3 separate regions of the Homo sapiens genome follow, and all the other regions are linked to region 1. Evidence: promoter capture Hi-C in human tissues and cell types (Jung and others, 2019). All regions are on one chromosome and are shown on one strand. Each heading gives the region's core, a stretch centred on a gene start or on the middle of the fragment in contact. The rest is flanking DNA. Distances are from core to core; before and after follow the strand shown. Region 1 holds the start of DLX5 (distal-less homeobox 5). Region 2 overlaps SLC25A13 (solute carrier family 25 member 13). Region 3 overlaps SLC25A13 (solute carrier family 25 member 13).

What was found. Contacts are between HindIII fragments. The study calls those that stand out against the background at their distance.
Region 2: a contact is called between a fragment that was not itself captured here and the fragment with the promoter of DLX5 in region 1, in 1 of the 25 tissues and cell types used here (H1 embryonic stem cells).
Region 3: a fragment that was not itself captured here is called in contact with the fragment with the promoter of DLX5 in region 1 in 2 of the 25 tissues and cell types used here (H1 embryonic stem cells and heart right ventricle).

What each region holds. Positions count from the first base shown.
Region 1 is chr7:97,022,329-97,026,657 of GRCh38, reverse strand. It overlaps DLX5 (distal-less homeobox 5), which reads left to right and starts at 1,827. Exons shown (of 3, transcript NM_005221.6): 1 at 1,827-2,389; 2 at 4,289-4,329. The coding sequence starts at 2,035. RefSeq lists enhancers at 163-678, 1,605-2,321. The HindIII fragment of the contact is 6,057 bases long and covers 1-3,282 here.
Region 2 is chr7:96,174,317-96,178,645 of GRCh38, reverse strand. All of the region lies in intron 11 of SLC25A13 (solute carrier family 25 member 13), which reads left to right. Among named protein-coding and RNA genes, the nearest start is that of MIR591, 43 kb to the left of the region's middle. The HindIII fragment of the contact is 3,366 bases long and covers 243-3,608 here.
Region 3 is chr7:96,243,848-96,248,176 of GRCh38, reverse strand. The region is part of intron 3 of SLC25A13 (solute carrier family 25 member 13); the gene reads left to right. Among named protein-coding and RNA genes, the nearest start is that of MIR591, 26 kb to the right of the region's middle. RefSeq lists an enhancer at 1-2,642. The HindIII fragment of the contact is 4,605 bases long and covers 1-4,297 here.

The sequences.
Region 1 (4,329 bases), core at 578-3,077:
GTCGGTAATCGACAGCGTCAAGTCAGGGCTGGCTGGCAGCTGCAGCTCTGTTTACCCCGAAGTCTATCTCAGAGAAGCCCGCGGCAGCCCAGGCCCAAAGCTCGTGACTCGGGCCAGTGGGAGAAGGAGAATGCTGCTGGGCGCCAGTCTCCCGGTGCTGAAGTTTCCCCCGAAAGGAAGTGCGACAATAGCTGTGTTTTTCTGGTGCAGTCCAGACCGCAAAGGCAGGGAGTTGGTGCACGCACGGCAGCTCTGCTTTGGAGTTCCTGAGCGGGGCTGTATCTTGCTCTGAGTTCCAGACACCCTACCTCTACCCGTCGGCCTGTTTTAGGCCGAGTGGCTCCACACTCCAAGTAAGGCTAAACTAATACTAGACACAACTAACACAGACGCTTTCTTCTTCGGTAGGAGGGAAAACGGAGGGGAGGCCAGATAACCCTAGATAGCCTGTGGAACTCCCAGATTGCCGGTCTTGGACCCCGTAAAGGAAGATGTAGGAAGGCCCCAAATCAGGATCTAGTCCGCGGAGTTGCCTATTTGAGGGGAGTAACAATGGGGATTGGGAGAGACTTTTATGCTGAATTTCTAAACTCCCAGCTGAATCACGACTAGAACAAGGATAGCACCTCCTGAAGAGCAAAGTTTAGATCTCGTGTATCAACTGAATGATTCTTGAATCCTTTCTTCCCTTGCATACGAGCTAAGTAGGATGTCTTTGCAGCAGGAAATAAAGGGGAGAGGGTACAGAAACCCGGGTCTGGGAAATGGAGAGACTGGGCCACATTCATGGAGCCAGGAGGGGGAAATCAATGAGCATCATCTGACTTTGCAAAGGCTTTGATCCTTGTCTCCTTCCCCACTTCCGAGACTTTCCCATTCTTTCCTGGAGGTATGGCAGGTTATACATGGATCCATTCACCTTTGCGGGAGTCTTTGGCCACTGAACATAGTTAAAGAGCCTTTATTCCAATGTCTTGAAAATAGATGAAAATATTAAACAGAAGTGGAGCTGTTTGGCTCTTTTTGCAAGCCAGCAACGAGGATTTGGGCTTCCTTAAGTTATATGTGTTTAAGACAGTAATTTTTAAAAGTCATTATAAGGACTTTGGGCTGCAGGAACTCTCCCTGCCATTCACCGGCTTAATGGACATTGTGCCTTCTTGGGCATTCCTGTCCAGCCCGCGTCCGGGAGATACTCATCTCCTGCAAAGGAAGTTGCCTCTTTCCCCAAAGAGCAAATTTTCAAAACATGTAAGTTACAACTTGCTTCCCAACACTCCACTAAAAAAAAAAAAAATGCTGTTTCCCTTCCTTCTTGCCTCCATCCTACATCCCCCCGCTCCCCACTCCCTGCACCTTGACTCCCTATTTCAGTATCAGTGTTTAATTCTACACTCGCCTTTGGTGCAGCCCACGGGGGCGGGGTAGTGGGAAGCAAGGAAAGATGGTCGCCCACCTCATTCCCAAAACATGTGCACTTTTGAGGCTTCTGATTGGAACACATTGTCCCCAGACATCACAGAGCCTTGTGCTGTGGCTTCTGCGATGTCTTTGGAATTTACTAAAAACAGATAGACTAAGACCCCTCCCCACTCCACAACAAGCAAAAACACACACAAGCGCGCGGGCGCGCACACACACAAACACACACACCCCCTCAGTACCCCCCACCCCCTTTTTAAGCAATGCTTTGTTGTGCTAAAACTAGTTGGACGAGTTAGGGTGTTACTGTTGCTCCCGAGGCCCTGGCCAATAGAACCAGATCCACCCCGCTGTGCGTAAGCGCGCAATTAAGGATTTAACCAAGGCTGTGCTGCGCCTCAGCCAGCAGTCAGCCGGCCGGAGACAGAGACTTCACGACTCCCAGTCTCCTCCTCGCCGCGGCCGCCGCCTCCTCCTTCTCTCCTCCTCCTCTTCCTCCTCCTCCCTCGCTCCCACAGCCATGTCTGCTTAGACCAGAGCAGCCCCACAGCCAACTAGGGCAGCTGCCGCCGCCACAACAGCAAGGACAGCCGCTGCCGCCGCCCGTGAGCGATGACAGGAGTGTTTGACAGAAGGGTCCCCAGCATCCGATCCGGCGACTTCCAAGCTCCGTTCCAGACGTCCGCAGCTATGCACCATCCGTCTCAGGAATCGCCAACTTTGCCCGAGTCTTCAGCTACCGATTCTGACTACTACAGCCCTACGGGGGGAGCCCCGCACGGCTACTGCTCTCCTACCTCGGCTTCCTATGGCAAAGCTCTCAACCCCTACCAGTATCAGTATCACGGCGTGAACGGCTCCGCCGGGAGCTACCCAGCCAAAGCTTATGCCGACTATAGCTACGCTAGCTCCTACCACCAGTACGGCGGCGCCTACAACCGCGTCCCAAGCGCCACCAACCAGCCAGGTACATGGACAGGGGGAAGGCTGGGCAGATACAGGGCGACTAGGACGCTGGGGGCGCGAGATGGGGTGGTAGATTGGGGGTCACAGCGGTTCACGGCAGTGGGGGCGCACGCGGCAGAAGGGAGTAGGACTCAGACCCTCCAACAAAGAGAGTTTCTCGGGCCAGCATTTTAGGGATTTTTAGTAGGAGAGCCCTGTGGAGGTTCGAACTAGCGTCTCTCCCCTCCGGCACCTTCCAAGGCCCTTCAGTCGCTGAATTCCCAGCTTGCCCGGCCAGGAAGCCGGCTAGGCTGGAAAGGGGATAGGGGTGGAGAGAAGAAAGAATCAAGCAGCTCCTGGCGTTTGCGTAACAAAGAGAAGGTTACTTGGGAATTTTGGTAAGCGTGCTGGGTTGGTGCGAGTGGGAATAGAAGGCTGCCTCAAAAACTCAGTCAGGATTAGTTTGAGAGCCGCCACAAGCTAGCACGGTGCGGGTGCCCTGAGCACGCTGGGTGGGGGTGGGGGGGTTAAGGAGTTGTAGCCAGCCAGAGAAGAGCGCGCCGAGAGTTTTGCGGTTTATCCAGGCATTTCCAAAAACAAAAAGCCATTTAAAGGTGGAGGAGGGTTGCTGAGGGGTCACGTTGTAGGATAGATTTTTTTTTCTGTCTCCATAGGCGCCCACAATTTGTCTTTCCGTCCTCCTTTTTCGTCCGCTTTGAAACTTACTTAGAGAGTTTAAGAGGGTTAGTGAGCTTGGGCGGTAAGAGAAAGGCATGAGGCTCGGCGGAGAGGTTTTATTGGTAAGGTTTGATCTCTTCCCACCAGCACATTAATAATCCTGCTAATATTAGCATCCCCTACTCTGGCAGAATTGAGACCACAGCCCTCATCCTCCACACTTCTCCCTGGAACTTGACACACACACACACACACACACACACACACACACACACCCTGGAGAGGTTCTCCGTCAGTTCCAGAGGGGTGGTAGTTTTGAGGAAGGGGAGTTGTAGCCCCAGGGCAGGTTTGTACAACACGCGTTTGGCAATCCCTCCCCCTCCCGCCCAAACCCATACTCATGACAGTGAGAATCTCATCCTGACCTGCCGCCCCTTTCCTACGAAAACACCCCACCACCGGTTCCTTCTCAGTGTGTGACTCTTGCTGAACTTTAAAAGAGAGCCCCGGGTTGAGGTGTCTACGTTTCTTTCACTCTCTCTGTATTCCGTGCATAAGTGGAAGATTTCTTTTTTTTTTTTTTTTTTTTGCCAAGAACATATTAAGTCTATTTGTAAAAGAAACCAGACACATCTGTGCCCTCGCAGATCTGCAGCGAGATTATGGGGGTTGCATAATCGACCCTCTGTCTGCGGCGGCCCCGACCGCTTGCTGCTGAAGTGAAGGAGCAGTTTGCTTGTGGGTCTTTGAACTTTGGAGACCTCGGTTAGCGTCTTCCCTGCCCAAGAGTCTGGCTTCTGCGGGCGCCCGAACAGACGCCGACAGAAGTAGGGTCACGGCCCAGGGCCACCTCCTTGAAGCCTGGGGAGGGGCTGGTGTTCTTGAAGCCTGGGGAGGGGCGGAAACGCGGAGGAGCACAGGGTGGGCGTAAAAACAAGTCCGGGAGAAGAAGCAACGACCGCAAGAGCTGAATCCCAGATGCCAAGGAGAAAGCAGTGTTGTAGGAAGCGCTTTGCACAAACTATCTGAATGAACAGAGTAGGAATTAATCAGAGGCTATCCCGCTTTTCCATATTTGGGGTAGGTGCATATTTATCGCGGTCCTGAAAAGCAAAGGTGGTGGTGATATGGGCAAAGAATGAAGACTGAGTGGTAAGAAACTCTAGGACTCTATTTGAGGCCCTTCCGCAAAAGGGGCATTGTCTGGTGACAAGCTTTAACTGAGTCTGTTTTGATTATTTAGAGAAAGAAGTGACCGAGCCCGAGGTGAGAATGGTGAATGGC
Region 2 (4,329 bases), core at 676-3,175, 850 kb after region 1:
GGGTTTCTCGGGGAAGATAGGGACAAGTGTTCTGGTTTCAATAGTGAGGTCAGAAGGGTAAGAATTTGACATCGGAGGGGTTGCTACCAGGTGGAAACTAGATAACACAACAGTGTGCTGGCTGTGGCTTCAGCTACAGGAATAGGGGTGTCTTCTGGATTAATTTTTCCTTCCAAAGTTTACTGCTCGTCTCTGCCCTGAATACCTTCTGCCCTCTATTAGATGCTCTCAGCTGTCTTTCTCTGGTTTGGGCTGGCCCCTGTCTCAGTTCTATGCTGAGATAGAACTGGTAACTACTGCCTTAGTTACCAAGTTTCTTCCTTGGTAGTAGCCCCTCCACCTCTGTGGTCCTGCTAGCGTTGCCCAGCGTGGTCCTTTGGCACCCTGGCCACTCTGGGTTACAGTAGCCGCTCAGCGTGGCTTCAACCCACTCCTGACCCTGCGCCTTCTTCCCAGTATATTCCTGCTCTCACTGGTTCACCAGGTTATAACCTACAGCTTGGCTCTGACATTCAGTGCCTTCGAGGTTTTAAGGAGTCTAATATTCACCATCTGTAGAGACGGGGGAAGCATGATGTGGATGCCTGCTACATGGGCACCATCCCTTTGTTGTGTACAAGGGTCAGGCAGGGCAGGGTGCTGACCCAGCCTGAGCTGAGGCCTAGAGAAAAGTTTCAGAACAGTCTAGTTGGGAAGAAATGCCTTTCCAGGGCAGAGGAGGAACTTGGAGCAGTAAGTCTGTTAGAGAAAACTGGTACCGCAGAGAATTAAGGAGCACAGAGCCCTGATTTGAGAGTACTGGCAGGCCTGAATTCAACTTTGAGTGCTACTACATAGTCGCTCAGAAGTTAGTGACTTGAAACAAGCTGCTTAGCCTGTCTGGATTCCAGTTTCCATGAAGGAGGAGGAGGAAGAATAAGTGATAGTGATGATGAAGATCAACAACAACAACAAAAATCCATTTCTGTAGTCTTTACTGTCTGTACTTGGTACTGGTCTGAGGATTTTGTGAGTGTTAACTCATTTCATCTTCACGACTACCCCGTGAAAATGGCATCATGATTATTCCCATTCTACAGATGTGGAAACTAAGATACAAAGAGATTAGGTAACTTGTCCACAATTACACAGCTAACAAATAGCAAAGTCAGAATTGAAGCTCAGCAGCCTGGCTCCAGACCTCGTGTTCCTAATCACTTGGCTCTTTTGTCACCTGGTAGAAATTACATTGTGAAAAGTTGCTTGTCAGCAGAGGTTAAGGATCATTTAAGTTTTTAACTATAATATTTTATTTCAGCTTAATAACATAGTTGAAATGTGTTGTTTTGTCTGTGCCACTACTTTACCTTGCCCAAAGTATACAGGGCCCCTGGACACTTCCAGACCACATGTGCTCTCACTGCTTGGGGACAGCTGTTCTAAGATAGGCATAATGTCATGGGCACAGCATGATACTCCTTAGCTAATGGTGGACTGTGAACATGATTCAGGCTGAATTGCCTCTTGCAAACAAAAGAAATCAAGGCTATGTATTGAAAAGATAGGTAGAAAGAAGCATTATGTCTTTTGGAATACATAACATATGAGGTAAATAGTGTCTGGTTCTTTGTACACTTATTCATATAATTATCAAAATAAACCAATAGATAGTAAGTAGCACCCTTGTTTTGCCAAGAGGGAACCTAGAATTCAAAGAATTACTACCCAAGATCACTCAGTGTGAAAGATGCACAGACCTAGCATTCTAGCCCAGGTCTGTCCACCTCCAAAGCCCATGCCCTAGATTGTTCATTTTGCTGCCAGCCCGTTGGAAATAGCCTAAAATTAGTTTAAATTAGGCCAGCAATATTGAGTTTCTTTCATAATCCCTTCCAACCCTGAAATTCCAGTTATATTTCTAACAGGTTCTTAAGAATAGCATGCTAGCCCTCTAGTTGAACACAGTGGGCCCAGGAACCTCTTTTGGGGATGTCCTGTGAAGCTTGAGTTGGAGACCCCTGATCTGGGCTTGGTCCCCACACCTTCAGCTCCTTGGTTTGCGCAAGGGACTGAATTCAGAGGGGATAGTGTGATTTATATCTCCAACCCATGAAATGTGAAGACAAAATACTACATTAATACTGTACCCTGTAAATCTTTTCTCGCATTAGCAGCCTTCTGGTAGAGTCGAGTTGCCAAGGAAGCATTGCCATATGTGCTGATGGAGCTGAACTAAAAGGAGAAGATTGGAAAACTAACCACACTAATAAATTTCTTTTGAGGCAGTTGGAAAATGGACTGCTGTTTTGACAAGTTAGAAACAACACACACATCCATTCTCTGTTTCAAATGGTTAAAGTGAATTTCCAGGACCCAACAGAAACATCTTATATTAGAAACCTGATTTTTCTGCTGAATTACCCAGATGTCAGATATATATGCACTTTAGACTTAATTGTGGTTGTGATGAAGTGCCTCACCTAGACTCTCTGCTTTAGGCATTACTGGGCTGTGCTACCTCTCCTCCCTCTGAGGTCAAGGTACAAGGAGGGAGTTTGGAATTCCCACCTCTTTGACTTTTCATTGTTTCACAGATCATGACCTTCTTACAAAGACCATTTACCCAAGACTCATGTTTTCAAGGCCCACATCTGTAGTGGGCCTCAGATTATAATCCAGTCACCTTCATTTTCCTGTTTAACCAGACAAGGTAGTCACTACAAGAATGGTTCTTATCAACAACTTCCGTGAGTGGCAGCATCTGGCCTAGGTCTTAGGAATGGATTTGTGCTTTGGTTTTATTCTAAGTTGAAGTTAATCATTTAATATAAGGAAGCTCGGGGCCTCTAATATATTACCTTAAACTCCTAGTTTCTCTAGCTTCCTCAGGTCTCTGCTCTTGCAAACTATCCTTCACCTGCCTCTAGAACTTTTTACTTTTTGAACTTTACTTTTTACCCTAAAAGCCACCCCATGCATCTACAGAATTTGGTGCATGCTCCTTAGTGGGCCTGGGAGAGAAGTTGTGCAGCGTACCAGGTAAGAGCACAGGCTGGAGTCGGACAGCCTGGGTGGAACCCCGTTCCCCCATCAAACAGCTGAGCCACCATGGGCAGCTCCCTTAAAGTCGGCCTCAGTTTCTTCTTCAGTTGCTGTGGATAAAACAAAAGCCACTGTTTAAGTAAGGTATTGTGTGGATTAAATGTGTTCATTCACATAAAACACACAGTACTGTAGTATGTGGATATAGCGAGTGCTCCCCAAATATTGGCTGTTGTCATTATCACTACTATTAATAATATTGTTATTTATTATCTGGTCTTCTGTGATCCAAGCACAGCCTCCAGTGCCCTGACTCCATGCCATAGCCTTAAGATGTTGGTGCCTTTGCACACCAACTGTTTCCTCTGCCTGGGTCACCTTGCCCTCCATTCTGCTCATTGTCTCATCTTTCCGGGGAACCTCTGCTCACCCTTGAAGTCCCAGGGCAAATATCTCCTCTTCTTTGATGTTTTTTCCCCTCCTGCAGGCAGAAGAACTGGTTCTCTCCACTGGGTTCTCATAGTCCTGTGATGCCCCTGGGGTCTGGTATGCAGCACCTGCTGTTGTTAGGTGGTTTGTCCCCCATCTGGCAGGTGGAGACAACTAGCGTTCCCTTTCCCTCTAAACTCTGAGCTTCTTAGCGGGGAGGCACCAGTCTCACTGTGTTCATCCCAGTTCCTCTCAGTACCAGGCAGACAGAGAAGGCATTTGGTAAATGTTTGCTGAACAAATAGCTACTTGTTGCCTTCTTTGTAGTCTTAAATACGGGGTTTTCCCTTCTGTTTTTTGCCGTTCACAATGCATTACTAAATTTATGGTGAGAAGGATAAATTTCAGTAGTTTGAAAGGCTGGCTGAAGTGATTGTATCTAACACAGTAGTCATTAGGCTCTGTGGCCTGTTTTTTTATTAGTCATTTAAAAAGACTGTCACAGGATAGTTATGGAGACAAGAGTTCATCATTTAAATCACAGTGCTTTCAACCCATCCACAATTTTGGTCTACAATTTAATGATGAGAAAAATACATCTAGCAAGTAAATGTTTAACTAAGCATTTTGTTACTTGATGTGAATACAGGGAGAAAGATGAAAATTTCAATTGTGAAGAGGTAGTTTAAACAGGCGTATGCCCACATATTACTAGTAGAAATTAATGTTGTACTTTTATTAGGTAATAACCAAGCCTTCTCCTATTATAGATATCTTACTGAAAGATCAGTGAGTGAGTGTCATGAGTATAGTTTAGGAGAGAATGCTTGCTTTGGATAAGAATGCTTGCTTTGCCCAAATGGTTGCATATTCCCGTTT
Region 3 (4,329 bases), core at 746-3,245, 780 kb after region 1:
CTGTGATTGCTTATAGGCTGAATTTAGGTTCATCTGAAATTATGATGTATCTCAGAAACATCATAATTCCTTGGTTTGGGAGTGGTAATAGGATTAGGACTGTTGAGACTGTAGAAAAAGCACATTGTTTTTCTTAGATGTGGATGCTTGTTTGGGGTGGTGTAGGCTGATGGAGAGTATTTGAGACAGCGGCTACTCTTTCTTTTTTTTTTTTTTTTCCCAGCTGCTACTCTCAATGCAGACATTGCTCTAGAACACCCTGTATAAACTATATATTGCCACATCTAAACCATATAGTACTTCATTAAATTTTGAACATTTAAAATATTTTAACTATATGAGACAACTATGTGGTGCATGTGTTAATTAGCTTGATTGTGATAATCATTTTTCAATGTATATGTATATAAAAATAACACATTGTACACTTTAAATGTATACAATTTTTGTCAATTATATGTCAATAAAGCTGTAAAAAAATTTTAGATAATGCACAATGGATCCCATACTTTGTATTTATTCCTATATACCTTGATTTTTAAGCACCTTATTCTTTAAGTTCATTTTGTTGCCGAATTTGAGTGCATTCTCCCTAGTCCTTATTAAAGAGGGTACAATAATCTTTCATCTGAGATACAATTGATGGAATTATTTTATAGGATCGAGTACATTTTAAAGCCTAATCTTTCTTTGCTTACATTGAATATTATGACCATAATATTATGAAATGTTATTCTGAAACTTGGTCTGAGTTCTCTTACGTCATCAGAAATTTCTGCAAATTCAATCTGAAATCAACACATGGGCACTTTTTTTTTCTTTTTTATGGTCTTAAATACAGAAAATCATAATCTATTTTAAGCTTAGATAAATGATGGAACACTTGTTTACATGGGTAAAATGACTCTATCTAAGTAGTATATTGAAGTTCATGTTAATGTTTGCTATTTAATGACACCTAATGATATTCAGTGAAGGGTTATGCTAAACCGGAGAGAAAATGTGTTACCCAGGCAACTGCCTCTGGCAGACTAGAGATTCGGGCATATGGCTCTATAGTACACATTATTTCAGCATCTTTAAGCATAAAGAACCACACATGTAATTGACTGTGAAAAATTACTGCTCAGTTACTGTATTGTATGGTCATAATAGAAGTAAATGAATACGTCATTGTTGTTGGAACAAGTCTGTTGGGAATCACTTGTAGACTCTACTATTTAAGAAGCAAAAATACAATAAGAAGAAAATAGCTGGTTTAATTAACATGTAAAAATTGGGTTAATTTGAATTCAGCTGGCACAGCAGATATTAATGTTGGCTTTTTTTTGTGATATTCTGGCTCAAGCCTGGGTATTTTTATTTCTTCTTGCCCACACCATGAATAATTTTATTTCTTAAAATGATAAGGGCTATTTCAGTCATTTAATTTTTGCTTTGCCAGGGACTTTTATTACAGTCACATCAAGAGAGGTTTTGTGTGTATCCAAAATGTAGGAATTACAGTTGAATGAAAGAAAATGCCAAAATGTTCCCGAGTAATTGATAATGTTTCTCAAAGAGGAATCAGTATAATTTTGATTTCATGTATTTTTTAAAAATTTTAGTTTACTGCTGATGTATTTTTATTTTTTTAACAGTGACAAACTAGGAATTGATCAACGGCAGATGCAAGAAAATAGCATGTTCTTGTCACTTTTTGTGTGCCTATGCTTATGTGCCTTTTGTTCGTTTTAGAATATTGTTTTAATCATCATTACCTTGCTTCAGAGATTCAGAAAAACCTATTGAGAAAGGCATTGTGTTCCAATTAAAAAATCGTTTAGCTCAATCAATTTTTGGTATTTTAAAATGTTATTTGAGCTGAGAACAAACATAGGTAATATGGGCATTAACTAAAAGTATGTATGGGAACATTCTGTTCCTTGGGCTGTGCCTTCGGTACCCTGTAGGTACTTTTGTGCTTTTCAGCCCTAAATCAAGGGAATGATCAAACTGGAGACTATGGTTAGAGAAGTGAAGGATTTGGCAGTGTGTGCCCTTGCATGCAGGCCAGTCTTTCTGTCCTTGGGTGCATTCAAAGTACCTGGTTATCCAGTGGTAATGAGAATAAACCAACATGCTGCTTTATATAGTGTAGGCCAGTATACGCTGACAAATTCATATGCCTGCTGGCTTTTCAGTTACTGATTTCTTATTTGTGGTTTCCCCACTATCCTTCTTCATTTGCCATTTTAATAACATTGAGACCTTTTTATCCAGCCTTAATTAGTAGAACAAAGAAAGATTTAGGAAACCTAGGTTTTTAAATCTGCTTTATTTGCCTTAATCAGTTTTCCATCATGGTTTACAATTACTTTTCCCTTTTTTCCTCAATGGTCTTTCTTTACCTCTTTTGATTTCCTCCTGCTTTGAAGGCAATACGTAATTTAAAATGAGGTATTTATGGTGTTTTTTGTTTGTTTAAACTTAGTAGACTTTTCCTTTAAAAAGAAGTCTTTGGTAGATCTCAAAATATCCATGATGTAATTAAAATGCAGACTATTTGTCATGCACATTATTAAATTCTGCTCTCAGTGTTGGTAATTATACAAAATAGGAACAATGTAGTATAATAAGATAGCTTTTCGGGGTTTTTAAATGATGTCTACTAGTATTTAAGAAATAAAGGATATTTATCTAAAGAATTGTGGAGATGGTGAATATGATTTGTCTCTAGTTTTAAAAGCTTGTAGGCTTGTAGTGGTTCTTTTCCTTGATGTAGAATCATCTTTGTAGGGATTGGCCGTGATCGGAGCATTTTTGTGACTTGAAGGTTAAAAGAGAGGTTGAGGGAGGTGGCAAGGACACTGGGGCAGATTCTCCTCATCTCATTGAGTAATGGTTATTTTACAGGGAGGGAAAGAATAAATGGGGTATAGGAAGAGTAAAGACATTTTCTAGTGTTACTTGAATTAACTACGTACTAGCAAGTGAGAACTAGAAAAGGGATGAATCATACCTGTCAAATGTGCTTGATCCATCTTATAAGAAAGAGAATGTTGGAGGTATAAGAATACCCCAGTAAATCCCCCTGGTTGGCACAGTCAGCCTTGGGCAACTTGACTGCTGTTTGGAGTCAGCTGCAAGGCGATGGGCTGCCAAGTAGAGCTGGCAGTATGGACAGATCACTTACTGAGTTAAGCTCACAATTACGAGAGCCTATATATATATATATATACTTTTGCCAATATGGAGGCAGTGATATATGCAGAGGTGATATTTATAGGCCAAATTTGTGATAACGATACAGTAAAATTGCCAATAAAAATCTTTAATAGGTTTTTAAAGCCAGGCAGTAGCCTGCTTGTTTGAACAATATTCAATCTGCCAGATTTCACTGGAGCCAATGAATTTAAATAGGCCCTTGGCAAACACTGCAGCGAGATTTGAACCAGAGTACATAGTAGAGCTGAAGAGCCCTGCTGGCCTCAGAACACATGCACTCCAGGGAATGCCAAGGTCCTTTCTGGAGCCAGGGTGGGCACAGAATGGCTGCCTGTAACCTAAAATGGAAGAAAACAGGATTTTAGAATGAAAGGCATCCGAGAAAAGCACCTTTTATGGAACAAGAAAGGATATCTGTTCCAACTTGTCCAACAAGGTCATTCAGCCAGTTAGGCAAAGGTAAGACCCTATAGGACTCAGCTTCTGTCCACCTTATTCCTGATGGTTTTTAGAAGATTGGGTAATCACTCATTGTCTCTTTTCAGATCAGATTAGAAACAATAGTCATGAATTTGCATAATTGGAGTCGTGAGTCTTCGTTTGTGTGCTTGCTGACCATCAACTAACATATTAAATAAAAATCTTTACTTAGGAGCATCCTCTTCATCTGCCTAACTGGTAGTTTCCATATCCTCAGTGACTTCCAAGCCTCAGAGTCTGTGCCTGTGACTGCCATAGCCCCTGGCCACTGGGCCTCCTCTTGATGGGGAGGGGCTGAGCAGCTCCTGGGCTTTAAAAACTGCTTGCTGTGACTTCCAGGACAGGACCCCCCCAGACCCCACGTAATTAAGCCTTAACAGCTGTTTAGAAAATGTATCCCAGATTTGACTGCTCCTTGGTTCTCTTGCTACGACCCAGGTTTAGCCTACTGTAGCCGCTTCTAACTGGGCTCACTGCTTCACCCGGCGGCCCGTGCTCCACAGTGTCTTGAGTGTTCTTCGTAACCTTTCTAACTCTGAGGCGAGTCACATCACTCCCCTGCATAAAACCCTTCAACAGCAGCTGATTTCCCTAGGAATAAAATCCAGGCATCCTTTTATGCCCGGCACCTCCCTCATCCTC